2 separate regions of the Homo sapiens genome follow, and region 2 is linked to region 1. Evidence: promoter capture Hi-C in human tissues and cell types (Jung and others, 2019). All regions are on one chromosome and are shown on one strand. The core of a region is centred on a gene start or on the middle of the fragment in contact, and the rest is flanking DNA. Distances in the headings are between cores, read along the strand shown.

Region 1 (5,314 bases), core at 727-3,226:
TATTTTCTCAGGTAAATAAAAATTGAGGGGATTCGCTGCCAATAGAACTGACTTGCCAGAAATGTTTTTTAAAAGTTCTGCAGAGAGAAAGAAAATGATACAGGTCAGCAACCCTGAGCTACATAAAGAAAGGAAGAGCATTTCAGAAGGAATCAGTAAAGAGAAAATGAAGTCTTTTATTTTTTCTTAATCTTAATTGATCTAAGAGTTTGCTAAAACAAAACAACAACAATAAAAATAGGCCGGGCGCGGTGACTCACCACACCTGTAATCCCAGCACTTTGGGAGGCCGAGGTGGGCAGATCACCTGAGGTCAGGAGTTCGAGACTAGCCTGGCCAACACGGTGAAACCCCGTCTCTACTAAAAATACAAAAATTAGCTGGGCGTGGTGGTGGCACATGCCTGTAATCCCAGCTACTTGGGAGGCTGAGGCGGGAGAATTGCTTGAACCCGGGAGACAGAGGTCGCAGTGAGCCGAGATCACACCATTGCACTCTAGCCTGGGCGACAGAGTGAGACTCTGTCTCAAAAATAAATAAATAAATAAATAAATAAATAATAAAAATAAATAAATAAAAGCCAGAAAGTGTATTTGATGATCATAGTTATGTATATGTGAAATGAAGGACAGCAATGATGCAAGGGATGGGTGAGTGGAATTAAAAATATCTTATTATTTATTTATTTTGAGATGGAGTCTTGCTTTGCTGCCCAGGTTGGAGTGCAGTGGGATGATCTCAACTCACTGCAACCTCCGCCTCCTTGATTCAAGCATTCATCTTGACTCAGCCTGCTGAGAAGCCGAGATTACAGGCATGCGCCACCACACCTGGCTAATTTTGTATTTTTAGTAGAGACAGGGTTTTGCCATGTTGGCCAGGCTGGTCTCGAACTCCTGACCTCAGGTGATCCACCTGCATCAGCCTCCCAAAGTGCTGGGATGACAGACATGAGCCACTATGCCCAGCCTAAGAATATCTGATGATTATAAAGTGCTTGCATTACCTCTGAAGCTGTATAGTGTTATATGAAGGTGGAGTTGGAGAGATGAGTTTTAAGCGTATATTGCAAACTCTAGGGCAACCACTAAAGAAGTGAGACCCAGCCTCTAGAAAAAAAAAAAAAAAAGGAAATTAGCTATCAAGCCACGAAAAGAAATGGAGGAACCTTAAACGCATATTACTAACTGAGATACGTCACTTTGAAAAGGCTACAAACGGTGTCATTCCAACTATACAACATTTTGGAAAAGGCCAAAGCATGGTGATGATAAAAAGATCGGAGATGTCAGGGACTGGGGCAGGAGGGATGAGCAGGCAGAGCACAGGTTTTCTTTTCCTCTTTTTAAGACAGTGAAAATACTCCTAGGATCCTGCAAGGAGGGATACAAATTACATACATTTGTCAAAACCCACAGCATGTTGACCACCAGGAGGAGACCCCATGTGACTCCAGGACCCTGGTTGATAACAACGTATCGAGATTCCTCACATGGAACCAGTGCGCTCCTGTGGTGGAGGGTGTACCTGTGTCAGGGCAGGGGGTACGTGGACATTTTCTGCAGTTTTTGATCAATTTTGCAATGAACTAAATCTGTGGTATAAAAATAAAGTCTATTAAAAGAATCCAAGGCTCCCTCTCATCTCACGATAAGATAAAGTCCCCATCCATTTTACTCCTCTCAGCCCTGGAGAAAGGAGAGGCCAGGTCCCACCACCTTCCACCAGCATGGACCCCCAGTCCAGACCCCACGCCTTTTCTCAGCATCCTCAGACCAGCAGGACTTGCAGCAATGGGGAATTAGGCACCTGACTTCTCCTTCATCTACCTTTGGCTGGGGGCCTCCAGCCTTGACCTTCGCTCTGAGAGTCTCAGGCAGGTCCAGAGCCAGTTCTCCCATGACGTGATATGTTTCCAGAGCAGGTTCCTGGGTGAGATAAAAGGATTTGGGCTGAACAGGGTGGAGGGAGCATTGGAATGGCACTCAGGGCAAAGGCAGAGGTGTGCGTGGCAGCGCCCTGGCTGTCCCTGCAAAGGGCACGGGCACTGGGCACTAGAGCCGCTCGGGCCCCTAGGACGGTGCTGCCGTTTGAAGCCATGCCCCAGCATCCAGGCAACAGGTGGCTGAGGCTGCTGCAGATCTGGAGGGAGCAGGGTTATGAGCACCTGCACCTGGAGATGCACCAGACCTTCCAGGAGCTGGGGCCCATTTTCAGGTAAAGCCCTCCCTGGCCCTCGCTGGGAACACCCAGATCCCTGCCCCTGCTGCCCAGGACCCTGCCAGGCACTCAGCACTGCCATTCCCAGCAGGTCCCGGCACTCTGCATCCTTTGGAGGATGGGGAAGGAGTGCAGCACATGCTGGTCTGTGGTGCTGCCAGGGCAGGGGATAGTGCAGAGAAAACCCCAGCTCACTGCAGAGAGGGCAGGACTCAGAAGCACTAAAGTTGAAAGGTTCCAGGGAGCCAGCAGGAGGGCTTTAGCTGTGAAGCCGCTAATCCAGGAGCAGGGAGGGTGGACAGGAGACACTTTGGATTGGGACTGCAGGGTGGGGCCACGAGGGACATGACCCCGTCCAGCAGGGCCTCCTGCTTGGCCCCACAGGTACAACTTGGGAGGACCACGCATGGTGTGTGTGATGCTGCCGGAGGATGTGGAGAAGCTGCAACAGGTGGACAGCCTGCATCCCTGCAGGATGATCCTGGAGCCCTGGGTGGCCTACAGACAACATCGTGGGCACAAATGTGGCGTGTTCTTGTTGTAAGCGGCGAGTTGGGAGCTGAGAGCTGGGAGCAGGGTGGGCAGCCTGGGTGTAGGGGGGAGGCGAGAGAGGTAGGACCCAAAAGCACATCTGCCCTGGGCCCCTGTGGTGGGCAGTGAGGGTGAGCACCCGGCCCAGAGGACGGCCATCCTGTGGGGTCGCGTCTGCACTGTGGGTTGGGGAAGCAGGGCGGTGGTGGAGAAATGGGCACGGGCACCTCTGCAGAGAAGACGCAGAGCAATGAGCCCTTCTGTGTAGTGAGAACCCGCTCTGCACCAACCTCGGCGGCTGCTTTCTCTTGCGGTCTGGGGACTGTCCTTCCCATAGGTCAGAAAACTGAGGCCCTGAGAAGGGGACTTCCACTGGCCCAGGTCACAGGCTGAGTGCTGAGCCTGGTGTTCGCCGGGGCCACAGCCTCCCTCAGGGCGCTCAGGGTCCCTGCAGTCCTGGCAAACCTTCCTGATGGGGACAGTCCGGGGCAGGAGGCAGGTGGGGACGCAGGTGGCTGGTGGTTCCGTTGTTCTCAGAAGCAAGGCACAAGGTGGGGCGGTTGATGGCACTGGGGAGGATGTTTCCTGGCCCGTGGAGAGGGTGGCGCCTGGTCAGGTGGGCAGGGAGAGGCTGATGCTTGGAGTCGGTCACCTGCAGGGATGTTGTCATTAGGACGGGGGAAGGACTGGATGAGGATGTCACAGTGGTGACAGCCCCCACTCCATGGTAGGAAGGGAACGCTATTGGGAATAGTGGGGTTTAGGTAAAAGGGCACCCGTGGGTCGGGGCCTTCACTGAGGCTGGCCTATAGATGACATCTGGGAGAGAGTCAGGACCCAGGAAGGCAGGTCCAGGAGGCTGGGTGCGCATAATGGAAGGAAGGGGAGCGCTCCTGTATGTGTGTGTGTCTTGCATCTGTGCACATGCTGTGTGTTTCTCTGTACCTGCATTTGCACATGTGTAGTGTGTGCACGTGTCTGTGTGTGAATGTATGTGTGGTGTGTGTGCACAAGTGTCTGTGTGTGTGCATGTGCAGGTGCCGGCATGGGTGTAGTGTTTGTGCACACATGCACATGCGTCTCTTCACACATGGTGTTGAGGTCTTGCATGGGCGCACGTGTGCATGTGCATCTTCTGCCTGTCATCACTGTCAACAGCTCACAGCAGCCAGCTGGACATAAATAAAGGAGTTTTGCAGGAATGTGGCTGACAGGGGAAATTCCTCCCCACCATTCCCTGGGGGCATCCATGGAGCCCCCACGCACTCTGGCTGTGGGTGAGGATGGCATGAAGCACAAAGCTTGGTTTCTGTCCTGCAGAAGATATAGATGCTTCACAGAGACAGGCAGAGGCTGCTGCCCCAGAGGCACTGTGCCCAGGGCGGGGAAGGGTGGGGAGGAGAGGGCAGCCAGGGGCTCTCCCCTCAGGACACTGTGTGGGTGAGGTGGGCAAAGCTTGACAACAGGGGTCACCTCCTTTCTTGGAGAAAAGCCCTACCCTGTTACTACAGGGAGGGCCCGCATGGGTGAGGTGGTGCCAGACTTGGGTCGCCAGGTCCCGGGAATGACCTCAGTTACCCTGTCAGCACCTGTGGGCAGAAGCTACCATCTCATCCCTGCTTAGACCTGAGTGGCCTTTGCCCAGCACCTGGAGGCCGCTCTGAGAAAAGGCTGCAGCTCGAACACAAACAGGCAGCTTCTACCAGGGCCCCCAGTCAGCTCCCTGCAGGCCGATTCCCCTTGGGGACAAGGAGGATGGGATACGGGTCAGGGCCTGTGTCTTGCTGGGGCGGCCTCACAAGCTCTGCCCTGGCCTCTGTAGGAATGGGCCTGAATGGCGCTTCAACCGATTGCGGCTGAACCCAGATGTGCTGTCGCCCAAGGCCGTGCAGAGGTTCCTCCCGATGGTGGATGCAGTGGCCAGGGACTTCTCCCAGGCCCTGAAGAAGAAGGTGCTGCAGAACGCCCGGGGGAGCCTGACCCTGGACGTCCAGCCCAGCATCTTCCACTACACCATAGAAGGTGTGGGCCATGCGGGAAGGTCCAGCCCCAGAGACCCTGGAGTGGCCAGGGATGGGGATGGAGGACTGAAGGGAGTGTGGGGAGGCAGCCAGGAGGCCTGGGGCTGCCTTGTGCTCAGCAGTGCATCCTCCCCGCAGCCAGCAACTTAGCTCTTTTTGGAGAGCGGCTGGGCCTGGTTGGCCACAGCCCCAGTTCTGCCAGCCTGAACTTCCTCCATGCCCTGGAGGTCATGTTCAAATCCACCGTCCAGCTCATGTTCATGCCCAGGAGCCTGTCTCGCTGGATCAGCCCCAAGGTGTGGAAGGAGCACTTTGAGGCCTGGGACTGCATCTTCCAGTACGGTGAGGCCAGGGACCCGGGCAGTGCTATGGGGAAGGGACACCATGGGGGCCCAATTTCTCCTTCTCCACCACCCAGTGGGGAATGGAGGCCACAGGGAGGGGTCGGGGATTCCTCACCTTCCTGCCGGGGAGATTGGTGCGAGGCTGGGGCTGGGCTGGGCTGATCCGGAGAATTTGGGATGAGAGCAGGGAGATTTGGG
Region 2 (5,585 bases), core at 1,074-3,573, 210 kb before region 1:
GGCACCCTGGGGATTTTCCAATTGTCCAGTTCTCTGGGGTGCATTTGCCTGGCATCCTGCGGGGCCGTTGTCCAGCCCGAGTTGGCAAATCCCTAAACGCCCCCAGAGCAGGGGCCTGACTCCTTTTTCACTCCTTTTCAGCTCCCGCATTAGGGAGGTTGCCTGTCCTGCCTCCACCTGTGTGGCGTGGGGAAGCTGATTTACAAACAGCAGAAGGGCCCCCGGCATGGGAAGAGTCCGGGCCAGGCAGCCTGCTCTGCCGGCTGGGGGACCGCCTGATGCAGGGGCCAGGCCAGGAGGTCCGCGGGGGCTGCTTTACAGCCCTCTGGGCAGCAAAGCAAGCTGGTCTCTGTGCAGCCCACTCCCTGCCATTCCCCACCATGCCCCTCCTATGTCCCTCCCATGCCCTGCCATTCCCCGCCATGCCCCTCCCATTCCCCCGCCATTTGCCGCCATTCCTCACCATTCCCCTCTCGTTCCCTGCCATTCCCCGCCATGCCCCTCCTATGTCCCTCCCATGCCCCTCCTATGTCCCTCCCATGCCCCGCCATTCCCCGCCATGCCTCTCCCATTCCCTCCCATTCCCTTCCATGCCCCTCCCATTCCCCCGCCATTTTTCGCCATTCCCCACCATTCCCCTCTCATTCCCCGCCATTCTCTGCCATGCCCTACCATGCCCCGCCATGCCCCTCCTATGTCCCTCCTATGTCCCTCCCATGCCCCTCCCATGCCCCGCCATTCCCCGCCATTCCCCACCATACCCCTCACATGCCCTGCCATTCCCCGCCCAGACCCTTGGTAACCTGGTCCCTGTCACCCATGCCCCGCTGGGCCCCTCACTGTTGCCGCTGGACATTAAACCCGCCAAGGGGCTTTCATGGGTTGCCCCTCTTTCTCCAGTGCTTCTTCACGCCACCTGGGACGTGGCCAACTTTTCTGGTGTCGGGATCATCTAACGCTCTTCCATGCACAAGAGTTCCAATGACCCACCCACCCAAGCTTCCTTCCCCCATCCCCTACCACTCCTCCAATACCCGTGGGTGCTGCCGGGAAGGGGCGTTGCAGATGTGCCGTGTGTCCCAGGTCAGCCGACCTTAGGGTCCGTGGATGCAGGTGGGCCTGGTCGAATCACGCCAGCCCTTTAAAAGCAGAAGAAGAGTCAGAGGCCAGGGAAGAGTGCTGTGGGGCCGTGCGAGATGGCAGCCTGAACGGTGGAGACCAGGTCCTGCTGACCGCCAGCAAGGAGACGGAGAATGCAGCTCTACAGCCGGGAAAAGAGTCTGCCATCCATCCGAACAGCCCTGGGCCTCCACCCAGGAGCCCAGCTGTCACACCTCAACTGCAGTCTGTGAGACCCCGCCCAGCCGAGCCCTCGCACTCCTACCCCTCTGGAGCTGCCAGGCAGTCAACAGGCACTGACCCACACTGTGGGGTTGTGGTGGCTCGTAGTGCAGCGAGGGCCCCAGCACGGGCATCTTCCCAGCACGGCTGCCAGCTCACGGTGGTCTCCCAGGCAACATGAAAGAAATGCATCAGGTAGCCCCTGGGCCCCAAACGTGATTTGCATTTCTGCCAAAAGCCAATCTTTTCTGACCAAGACCTGGGCCCTCCCAGTAGCACCTGAGTGGCCCCGTGGGCTGCCTGGGCCATGTCCCAGCTTGTTTCTGGGCAGGGCCCTTTCACATCGAGGTCTTTCCCCCAGTGACACTGTGACTAGAATCACAGGATTTCTGGATGAGGAATGTAATTTTGCAAAAACCTATACAGTTTCAGTCTTAGGGGCTTCTGTTTAGTGGCAACATTGGTGTCAATGGCATTAAATTAGGCGTCCCCTTGTTCACCGTAAAGCCAGCCTAGGGTCACCTGCACTTGTAACTTCCCAACAGCTTTGGAAGCAAGATGCCATTTGTGGGTTGGTGGGGGGCAGTCACTCCTCTCAGGGTAAAACCCCCACCTTTGCCACCTGCAGCAAGTGACGTATGGACCCACCTGGAAGCATTTGATCACAAGAGCTTGCAGCGTCTTGGGGACTGGTTCTTGGCCCTGACCATCACTTCCATGCAGTGGTATCTAGAATCAGTGGTGTGCCCGCCCCTCGCACTGATAATTTAGGAAACTGTGCCCATCCTGAGCCATCGGGCTTTGCCTGCCGCTCTCCCCAAATGTCCTGGCTCTTCTCAGAGGACCCTCGGGTTTCCGCAGCCGCCTGCCATGCCCTTCCACCCGCAGCATGGGTTTGCAGCCAGTCAGGTTTCTCAGCTGAGTTACTTTTTGGATGAATGTCACATCTGTTTAATTGGCCACTGGAGAGAGGAGACTGCACTGACCCGAGGACCGGGTCTGGTTTCTTTCTTGTGCCCCAGCTGCTTCTTCCAGTGGCCTTGTTTCTGTCTGGGTGTCAGTGGCACCTGCCATGGAAGAGCTGTTTCTCTCGCCTCCCTTGTGCCGGTCTTTGGCCAGCTCCCCGCCCCAGGTCGGCTTCCTCTCCGTCCCCTCGGTAAGGTGTGCTCCCTGTGGCCAGCCCCAAGGCTGTCAGCGTTTTGTATCAGGGACAGGTTGACAGCCACCTGGAGCCTCGTCCTCAGCAAGCTTCTCCCGCGCCCCCTTATCTTGCCTCAGAGAACCTCAGCTTAGATAATAAACAGCCATGCTGCTCGTGGTGCCCACCGGAGACAGCACGCAGAGCGGGATGGTCTCGTTTGCCTGGGAGCCAGGGGAAGCCAGGGGACCACTGGGACTGCCCACTCGCCGACCCCCACCCCCGTCCCTGACACATGGAGGCACGCTGCATCAAGGTTTAGGGTAGGAAGCTCCCCGTGGTACAGGAGGGGCAGCTCTTACCCAAAGGGGGCTCTTTCCGTTATGAAACTTTTTCCCTTTAAACTCTAGAAATTGCCAGAGGCACTGACATTTTCCAGTGGGCCGTGTGCCATAAGCCCAGATGTGTTTAATCCTGAACAGAAGGCTCTTCTGTGCTCACAGTCGACACCTCCAGGAGCTCTCATTAGCGTGTTTACAAGGACATTCTTTTCTTTTGTCTGATTTCTTTCTCCAAGAGCATCCCCAGGGGAGGATGGATGGGTTGCAAATGGTAACACTTTCCATGTGTGTACACGTGTGTGCATGTGTGAGGGTGTGTGTATACATATGTGAGGGTGTGTGGTGTGTGTGTACATTTATCAGGGTGTGTGTGAGGGTGTATGTACATGTGTGAGGGTGTGTATGTGTGTACATGAGTGTGTGGGCATGTGTATGCATGTGTGCCGATGTGTGTGTGTACATGTTTGAGGGTGTGTCCTCGTGCATATATGAGGGCATGCGTGTGCATGTACATTTGTGAGGGTGTGCATGTGTATGAGGATGTGTGTACATGTTTGAGGGTGTGTACATGTGTGAGGGCTGTGTACATGTGAGGGTGCGTGTGTATACATGTGTGAGGATGTGTGTACATTTGAGGGTGTGTGTGTACATGTGAGGGCATGTGTATGTGTGCATGTACATATGTGAGGGTGTGTGTACGTGTGGGTATGCATATGTATACAGTGTGAGGGTCTGTGTGTACATGTGAAGGTGTGTGCACATGTATGTGAATGTACGTGTGGGTGTGTGCATACATGTGTGAGGGGTGTGTACCTGTATGTGTACGTGGGGGGGTGGGGGGTACATGTGGGAGTGCATGTGTGCACGTGTGAGGGTGTGTACATGTGTGAGGGTGTGTGTGTGAGGATGCATGTGTACGTGTGACGTGTTACATGTGAGGGTGTGTTACATGTGTGGGTGCATGTACATGTGTGAGGCTGTACATGTGAGGGTGCATGTGTGTACGTGTGAGGGTGTGTACATGTGTGAGGGTGTGTGTACATGTGTGTGAGGGTGTGTACATATGTGGGTGTGTGTACGTGTGTGAGTGTGTGTGTGGGGGTGTGTGTACGAGTGTGCATGTGTACATGTTTGATGGTGTGTGCATGTACATGTGAGGGCATGTGTGTGCGTGTATGTGTGCATGTTTGAGGGGGTGTGCGTACGTGTGAGGGTGTGCATATGTATACATGTGCGAGGGTGTGTGTACATGTGTGAGGATGTGTGTACGTTTGAGTGTGTAAATGTGAGGGTGTGTGTACGTGTGAGGGTTTGTGTGCGTACATGTGTGAGGATGTATTAGGGTGTGCCTGTACATGCGAGGGCATGCATGTGTGCATGTGTGTGCATGTACATGTGTGAGGGTGTGTACGTTTGAGGGGGTGTGCGTACGTATACATGTGTGAGGGTGTGTACATGTGTGAGGGTGTGTGTACATGTGTGAGGGTGTGTGTACATGTGTGAGGATCTGTACGTTTGAGGGTGCATGTGTGTACATGTGAGGGTGTGTGTACATGTGTGAAGATGTATATGTGTTCAAGGGTGTGTGTGCGCACGTGTACACACGAGGGCATGCATGTGTGCGTGTGCATGTACATGTGAGGATGCATACATGTTTGGGGGTGTGTGCACGTGTGAGGGTGTGCATGTGTACACGTGTAAGGGTGAGTGTGTATACATGTGAGTGTACATGGTGTATTTGTACGTGTGTGTACATATGTGAGGGTTGTGTACATGTGAGGGTGTGTGCACATGTATGTGGGTGTGTGCATGGGTGTGTACGTTTATGGGTGCACGTGTACATGTGTGAGGTTGTGTGTACATGTGTGAAGGTATGTGTGTACGTGTGAGGGTGCATGTGTATGTGTGAGTGTGTACATGTGTGGGTGTATGTGTGTTTACATGTGTCATGGTGTATGTGTGTGGGGGTTTGTGTACATGTGAGGGTGTGTGCGTACATGTGAGGATGTGTACATGTGTGAGGTGTGTACATGTGAGTGTATACATGTGTGAAGGTGTACGTTTAAGGGTATACATGTGTGGGGGTGTGTACATGTGTGTGAGGGTGCGTGTGTGTATGAGTGTACGTGTGAGGGTGTGTGCACACGTGTGTACATGTGTGAGGGTGTGTGCTACGTGTGGGGGTGTGTATACATGTGTGGGGGTGTGTATACATGTGTGGGGTGCATACATTTGAGGGTGCATGTATGCACGTGTGAGGGTGTGTGTACATGTGTGGAGGTATGTGTATGTGTGAGGGTGTGTGTACATGTGTGGGTGTATGTGTAATGTGTGGGTACATGTGTGGTGTGTACGTGTGGATGTGCATACATGCGTGGGTGTGTGCATGTGTGAGCGTGTTACATGTAAGGGCATGTTACATGTGTGAGGGTGTGTGTATATATGTGATGTGTGCACATGTGTGAGGGTGTTACGTGTGTGAGGGTGTGTGCACGTGCGTGGGGGTGTGCACGTGTGTGGGGGTGTTCATGTGTGAGGGTGTGTGTTACGTGTGTGAGGGTGTGTTACGTGTGTGAGGGTGTGTTACGTGTGAGGGTGTGTATGTGTGGGTGTGTGCACGTGTGGGGTGTGTGAAGGTGTGTTACATGTGTGAAGGTGTGTATACATATATGTGGGTGTGTGGGGTGTATACGTGTATGGGTGTATACACGTGTGAGGGTGTGTGTACACGTGTGAGGGCGTGCATGTGTACCTGTGTGAGGGTG

What was found. Contacts are between HindIII fragments. The study calls those that stand out against the background at their distance.
Region 2: a contact is called between a fragment that was not itself captured here and the fragment with the promoter of CYP11B2 in region 1, in 2 of the 25 tissues and cell types used here (pancreas and thymus).

The regions. Positions count from the first base shown.
Region 1 is chr8:142,914,505-142,919,818 of GRCh38, reverse strand. It overlaps CYP11B2 (cytochrome P450 family 11 subfamily B member 2), which reads left to right and starts at 1,976. Exons shown (of 9, transcript NM_000498.3): 1 at 1,976-2,217; 2 at 2,605-2,760; 3 at 4,574-4,773; 4 at 4,911-5,114. The coding sequence starts at 1,979. RefSeq lists an enhancer at 689-970 and a promoter at 1-1,977. The HindIII fragment of the contact is 14,293 bases long and covers 1-5,314 here.
Region 2 is chr8:143,122,756-143,128,340 of GRCh38, reverse strand. No RefSeq gene overlaps it. Among named protein-coding and RNA genes, the nearest start is that of LY6H, 35 kb to the left of the region's middle. RefSeq lists an enhancer at 888-1,447. The HindIII fragment of the contact is 4,563 bases long and covers 42-4,604 here.